Regions from separate parts of the Homo sapiens genome. Here region 1 is linked to region 2. Evidence: promoter capture Hi-C in 16 types of primary human blood cells and fetal thymus (Javierre and others, 2016). All regions are on one chromosome and are shown on one strand. The core of a region is centred on a gene start or on the middle of the fragment in contact, and the rest is flanking DNA. Distances in the headings are between cores, read along the strand shown. Region 1 overlaps MACIR (macrophage immunometabolism regulator). Region 2 holds the start of PAM (peptidylglycine alpha-amidating monooxygenase).

The links. The method cuts DNA at HindIII sites, captures the fragments that hold promoters and counts their contacts. A CHiCAGO score of 5 or more calls a contact.
Region 1: a fragment that was not itself captured here is called in contact with the fragment with the promoter of PAM in region 2 in 1 of 17 cell types (total CD4 T cells); the score reaches 6.2 in total CD4 T cells.

The regions. Positions count from the first base shown.
Region 1 is chr5:103,275,032-103,278,632 of GRCh38, forward strand. MACIR (macrophage immunometabolism regulator) reads left to right here. Exons shown (of 3, transcript NM_033211.4): 3 at 866-3,601. The coding sequence starts at 889. The coding sequence ends at 1,509. Among named protein-coding and RNA genes, the nearest start is that of MACIR, 18 kb to the left of the region's middle. The HindIII fragment of the contact is 4,833 bases long and covers 1-3,601 here.
Region 2 is chr5:102,753,983-102,757,591 of GRCh38, forward strand. It overlaps PAM (peptidylglycine alpha-amidating monooxygenase), which reads left to right and starts at 1,323. Exons shown (of 26, transcript NM_001177306.2): 1 at 1,323-1,366. RefSeq lists enhancers at 352-877, 1,885-2,385, 1,957-2,046 and a silencer at 1,017-1,566. The HindIII fragment of the contact is 4,564 bases long and covers 1-3,514 here.

The DNA of each region.
Region 1 (3,601 bases), core at 804-3,303, 520 kb after region 2:
AATATTACTATTCATTGTGAATTATTCTGCCATTTATGAAACTATTGAAAAGTACAACGTCTTGGGTATTGAAAAACAGAATGTCAAGCCTGTGGTGTATTTTATGATTAAGTAGTCAATTAAAATGACATCTGATGTTTTATACATTTTTAGTATTAAAAATTATGTGATATATTGGATTTAGGATTACTTTTAAACTACAAAATGATATTCTTTAATTCATTGGGGATATGGAAGGAAGAACATTTACAAGGTTTGGGGGAACCTTCCCCTAAGACTCCTCATACTCTAAGAATAGTTTTTTAGGTCTAAATTGGATTCCTTGCAGAAATTCGTCAGCTCAATCAACTTTATTATATGTTCCTTAAAGACAAATTGAAAAGAATTGCAGGTGTCAAGAGCTAAGCACTTACTTTAAATTAAATAATGGAAAAATTTAACTTTCAAGCCAGAAATATTTTGTGTGTTCTTATGAAACTATGTATGATGGCTTTCATTTGCTTAATGCTGAGATCTGTATTTGACTCGCTTGATATTGCATTAAGGAATAAACTTTATGTGATTGAATAGAGTGCGGAATTTAGAGAAGTATTGTTGTTGTTGTTTTCTGTTTGCTTCTCCATCTGAACTTTTTGGTAGTACATCAGACTTTAATTTAACTTGCCTTTCAGTTCTTAAAGGCAGAGAGGTATTGTCATTTCATGCCCGCTCTGAAACGTTTAGTAGACATAGTTACATGTCAGTGGTACATTGACTGTCTTTCAGGCAAGTGTTACTTCATGCTCCCTGAGCCTTCTAAAAGGACCTGGCCTGGCCCAAGTCTCTGTGCATTATATTCTTCTAATCTAAGTCTGTTTACTTTTAGGATTGTGCAGACTGGTGCTTAAAATGGAAGTCGATATTAATGGAGAGTCTAGAAGTACCCTGACCACCTTGCCCTTCCCTGGGGCTGAGGCCAACTCCCCGGGAAAGGCGGAGGCAGAGAAGCCCCGCTGCTCCAGCACACCCTGCTCCCCGATGCGGAGGACCGTGTCAGGCTACCAGATCCTACACATGGACTCTAACTATTTGGTTGGCTTCACGACTGGCGAGGAACTCCTGAAGTTAGCTCAGAAGTGCACAGGAGGTGAAGAGAGCAAAGCAGAAGCCATGCCATCCTTACGCTCCAAACAGCTAGATGCAGGACTTGCCCGTTCCTCTCGTTTGTATAAAACCAGAAGTAGGTACTACCAGCCATACGAGATTCCAGCTGTCAATGGCAGGAGGCGAAGGCGGATGCCAAGCTCAGGAGACAAGTGCACTAAATCTTTACCTTATGAACCTTACAAGGCCCTCCATGGGCCTCTGCCTCTTTGTCTTCTTAAAGGTAAGAGGGCTCACTCCAAATCTCTGGACTACCTCAATCTAGATAAAATGATCAAGGAGCCAGCTGATACAGAAGTGCTACAGTACCAGCTTCAACACCTAACCCTCCGAGGGGACCGTGTGTTTGCTAGGAATAATACATGAATGACTTGGAGAGAGCTTAAACCAATTTAGGTCAGCCTACGCTTGGCTAGAAAAAACCCACTGCTGTACTCTGTACATGACTCTTCACACTATAGATGGTTATATCAGCTAAGTGTTCCTGGAACATAAAAATTGTTTGGGTCAAATTTGAATACAGGAATGAAATCACAGGTACTTGGGGGGGGGATATCATTCTAGAGCACGCAACTGCAAAGAAAACAGAATGTTGACTGTTAGTTTGTATAGCTTTTTAGCTAGGAAAAAAAGGCTTTGGTACAGTAATTTCATCTTTATGATTCTGACACTCAAATTGGGAATGTTACCTGCTTGGTTGTTGCTGACTTGATATGATTCATTAGAAATTTATATCTTCAGTACTCAAGTACTTCTTGAATCTCTGTATTTTACTATAAAATGTATGTAATGATTTGTTTTATGAAATTTAGAACTTGAACATTGCTGAATTGGACCACTTTTTATTTTTAAATATTGAGTTTAAATATTTTATAACTGGTTTTGCACTGAAAAAATTAACATTTCAGATTGACAAGAGAGTAATCTTTCTTCACTTGCCTCAATAATGTTATTGAGCAATGAATTTTTTATTTCCGCATGGAAAGTTATTGATCTCTATGGCTGTAAAATATTTCTTTATAGCGTTATTAAAGTGTGTCTTAATAAAATTAAATTTGGGATACAAAGTATTTATTTTACAATGGGTGGGCGGGGGAAACTTTTCCAGAAAGTTTCCAATATGACGTTTTCATAAGTTGAAAAAACTCTCCTTAGTGCTTATTTTCTAACTTAAAATTCACCTGGAACTTTAAATGGGAAAGGATTCTTTTAATTGTGGATTATAGGCATAATACTGTTTGCATCTGAATTTTCTGTAAGTGAATAATAGTTTAATAGAGGAACTCATGATTTGTACTATTGAATGATTAAACTAAGTATGAAGTGATACCATTCAGCATGGCATCAGGTCATTGCAGTTTTAGTTCTGTGTAACACAAGCACTCACTGAAATTCCAGTTTCTAGGATTAGTGTAGGAGCCTAACGTGCTTCTACTGTTTTAATGGGTTAATCCTGGATTACTTAACAATTTATGTCAATTGCACTGGTTTAATTTGTTGCTAAAGAAATAATGCCCTGGGTTTAGTAACAAATACAGCTCAACTATTCTTGAATATATTTTGAAAAAAAAATGTATGTAACTTACCTTTTGTAAACGTTCCATTTCTTTTTTCCCTCATTTTTGACTCTTAAAGGTGCAATTTATTACTGAATTGGGATTTCTGGCAGCACAGAACTGCTTTTTATTTTGGGGTCTGTGAGTTTCTTAGGTATTAGCAATCTTGCTTATAAAATAAGAACACCTTTTAATTAATGAGTGGGTCATTCCTGGTGCAATTGTGATTTTTCTTTAGCCAGAATGAATGGCAAACTCTATTTAGAGCAAAGTAAGTATTAGAAAACCCTAGGAACTCTTAATCAACGTTTATTACACTTTCATTAAGGCAAACTACGTGAAAGAGCCTTGGGGAAGTTGGCCCATATCTTACTAAGTTGATCAGATTTCTCGTTGGGCTGGAAATGTTTCGCTGTTGTATATTTTAAAGTAAATTGCACCTTTGTAACATATTGTATTGACGAATGATCACTAAGATTAGCTATATCTATACAGTCATTAGTTTGACAAGAAATAGAATCCTGTCAGATGCCAAAGAGTGGGATTTTTATGTTTAATGATTAAACACCATTATTTATTGACAATTTACCCTGTGGAACTGTATTATTTCTAACTATGAAATAAAGGGGTGATGTAAACACACATTGTTGTGTGGTGCTTTAAACTAGGTCCACTATCAACAGGCTACTTACTGTTCAAGAATTCCACTGAAGCACTTATTTTAAGGCCCTATTTTTCTTAAACAAAACAGTGACAACAACAATCAAACCATTTACTTTTGATGCTCATTGGCATTTTATGATAAAAGATGTATTCATGGCAATGATATGTATTCACCCTATTAGGAAACACAACTGGTTACCTATGAGACCTGTTCTGTCCGTGTGCCTACGTTCCTTAAT
Region 2 (3,609 bases), core at 73-2,572:
TACCACACCAGATTCTGAAGGGGAGGAGTTGTCTGGAAAGACCAGAGCTGGGTGCTGGGGATCTGGAGCAGCTCGGGACCCGCGCTGCAGGGAGCTGGGATGGGAGAGGTGAGGGAGAGGAGGATGGGACTCTGGGAGAAAGAGAGGGGGCTGGGCTGGCGCTGGGGATGGAAGAGGCGAGGTGAACGCACTCAAGCGGTTACCTGCAGACAGGGAGAGACAGTGGCAAATACCTGCCTTCAATTAAACGCATATCAATTTGTGTGTGGGGTCAGTACTGCACATCATCAAGCCTCTTGGGTATAAAACCTTCCTACTGGAACTCTCCAGCCCCGCCCCCACCACCCCACGCGCGGCTCCCTGCTTTCTCTTGCTTTGGGGTGAGGCTGGGGATGTGGGTGGCTCCAGAGTTCCCTGCCCGCAGTTTAGGGGCGAAGTGATCGGTGTGTGCGCGCTGGGCACTCTGCGGGTTAAAAAGGTTTAGCAGAAAGGGATGCAGATGGAGGCGGGAAGCCAGGCTAAGAAAGGGATACCGACCTCCCTCCTCGGGTCGGAGGTGTGAACTGGGAAGCACTGCGCAGACCTGAGCGAGGTGGCCTGAATCCAGGGGCCGGGCAAGGGGGTGGTGTGAATAGAAATAGCACATTTCCCAGGCTTTCAGCCCCGGTACTCTGCCATCCTTCCAGTTCCATGCACTCAGCCAGGTCTCCAGGCTGGAGCAAGGGCTGGGGGTCAATGGGTCCTTCCTTCTCTCGGGAAACGTTCTTCTGGCGCGAAGCTGGGCGGAGGGAGAGTCGGACATTTTCCTCTGCTTCTCTCAGGGCAGCTGGCGTGGCCACCTCGCAAGGCTGCTTCTAGGGACACGAGACTCGGGAGGGTCAGAGACTTTCAGGCCGGGCCTTCACTCCCTTCCCCGGGGCACTTGGGCAAGAGTTCCAGCTCTTGGCTACCTCTGGCCCGCGCGTGAGTTCAGACACCCAGCACACGCGACCCCCGCAGGGAAACCCCGGGAAGCTGCGCGCAATCGCTGGGGACTCGCCAGGGCTCCACTTCCCAAGCTCCGCGCCCCCTGCGCCCAAAGAGGCAGGGCGGAGCAGAGGCCGCCGGCGTGGAGGAGGCGAGCGCGGGGCTGGCCCGGGAGCCGCCCCCGGGGAGGGACTGAGACCTGCCCCAGGAGTCGAGGGCGAGCGGCGGACCCGGCTGGGCCCGGCGCACGCCGAGGAGAGGGAGCCCCCGCCACCGCCGCTGCCTCCGCGTGCTCAGCCTGTCCCCGCCCAGGGAGCCGGAGCCTCCAACTAACTCCGCCCGCCGCTCCGCCGCCCGCAGGCTCCGGCTTCCGTCCCGGACAGAGCCCGTGGTCGCGCAGGTTGGTGTTGTTGCCGCTGCTGCCGCCACTGCGAGGCGGTCAGGGCAAGGGTGAGGGTGGGGGCGCGGAAGGGGGCCTGGGCTCGGGATCCTGCTGCCACCAATTCCTGGTGCCCCAGGAGGTTGTTGCTTTTTCTCCCGGGCTGCCCGGGTCGGGGGTGGGGGGATGGGGCGGGGATCCAGCGATGCGGCCAGGGAGGATTTTGGGGACTGAGCTATTCTCGCATTTCCCAAACCTCTCTCACGACCCTTCATCACCATTATTAAGTCCCTGGCCAGTTTGTGAGGGGTCGTCCTCCCCTCCGGTCCTTCTCACCTCCGCACTTCTCCTTGTGCCCTCTCCCTAGGGGGTACAATTTGTTCATTCGCCTTTTCTGCCCCCAACTTGGAGAACTCTCCGTGACGCCTAGAAAGCCTCCTCGGTTCTCCGCCCGCCCTTCAGTCTAGTTTGGGGAAGTAGAGGCCGCCGCGGAGTAGCAACCTGGGGTGTGGAGTGGGGGCGAGTGCCGGGAAGCAGTGGAAATTCCTTCCCCTCTTTCTTTCCCGTCCTTGCCCAGCTTTGCTCTCTTCCTGCCGTTTTGCCAGCCTCCGAATGTAATACGCGGGCGAAGGGCGATCTCCAAGGCAGAATGGGAAGTATCCACCACTTGGGATACTAGTTAAGTCTAGGTTCAGTCACCTTCCCAGCTCTGTGGCCTTGGGACCCGCCCCATCGGAACCTGTATGTTGTCATCTGCAAAATATGCGTCAGCTCTGCCTGCCGCTGAGGGTAGTTGTGGGGCTCCCTTGGGATGACTTAGGGTATTACGTGATTTTGAGCACGGTCTCTTGTCTCGTGCAGCTGCCTGATGGCAGGTCCTGTGTTCTGATCGTCTGAGTTCAGGTCCTTTGGCTGAGATGTGATTATCTCTCTGGGTGATTTGGTCAGTAGCTTTGCGGGGCTAAAAGGCATGTGTTCCTGGAGCTGGTCATTGGGGTTCAGAGTTGAAATCGTGTCGTCCCCACCAATCCCTGTGTACAAAGCTATGGACCTTACATCCTGTGCCTTTGTGGTCATAGAAATTCAAGTAGAAGGAAGATCTTATTGGACTTTGTTTGCTTCAGATGTTTTACATTCTTTACAATCGCTTTTCTCTTCTAGGTGCAAACTTAAATTTACTGCTAATTCTAATAATCCAGGAAGGATACTTTCATTTTAGTAAAATCAGACATTTAGCTCAAATAACATGTGACATATTGTTTGTAAATTTTCAGTTTATAATCACAGGCACAAAAAAGCATAGTTCATGCCATTCTAGTTACTTTATAAAGCAAGTAAATGGCCTAAAAAATCAGCTTTACAGGAAGTCAGGGCTGCAGTGAACTGTGTTTATACCACTGCACTCCAGCCTCGGTGACAGAGCAAGACCCTGTCTCAAAAATAAATAATCAGCTTTAGAATTGATATTAAATGGTAAGCCCTGTCGTTCCTGCATTCCTGACTTAATAGGCATTTTCATTCCGCGATGCACTCTGCTATATGCTTTAAAGATATAAAGATATAGAGTATGTTCCTTGTCCTGAAGGGCCTTCCAAGGTAACTTAAAGACTATGTAGTTTTATTTCATATTTTTATATGAACAGTCTTCTAATGACTATACATGGCAAGTAGAATGAGGTCAAGAATGCATTATCAAAGGCCCTTTAAGATCATCATTTGGCCGGCTGCGGTGGCTCACGCCTGTAATCCCAGCACTTTGGGAGGCCGAGGCGGGCAAATCACAAGGTCAGAAGTTCCGTACCAGCCTGGCCGACATGGTGAAATCCCATCTCTACTAAAAATACAAAAAATTACTTGGGCATAGTGGCAGGCACCTGTAATCCCAGCTACTTGGGAGACTGAGGCAGGAGAATCGCTTGAACCTGGGAGGTGGAGGTTTCAGTGAGCTGAGATCACTCCACACACTCCAGCCCTGGTGACAGAGTGAGACTCTCTCAAAAAAAGATAAAACTAAATAAATAAATAGATAAAAAATCATTTGGTGAGTTTGCATAATTGGAAGAAATAACAAGTTTGTTAAGACATTGCTTTCTAAAATAAAATGCCATGTGCTCCTACTTCATCAAGGTGCACTTGGAAATAAAATGAATTCTGTGTTTTTAGAATGAAAGCTTAGGAAAACATTCTACACATGTATGATGTGCTAATCAAATGTTAAAAGCTATAGAAATTTTAATTCTAACTTCCTTCAACTGTATGTTGTG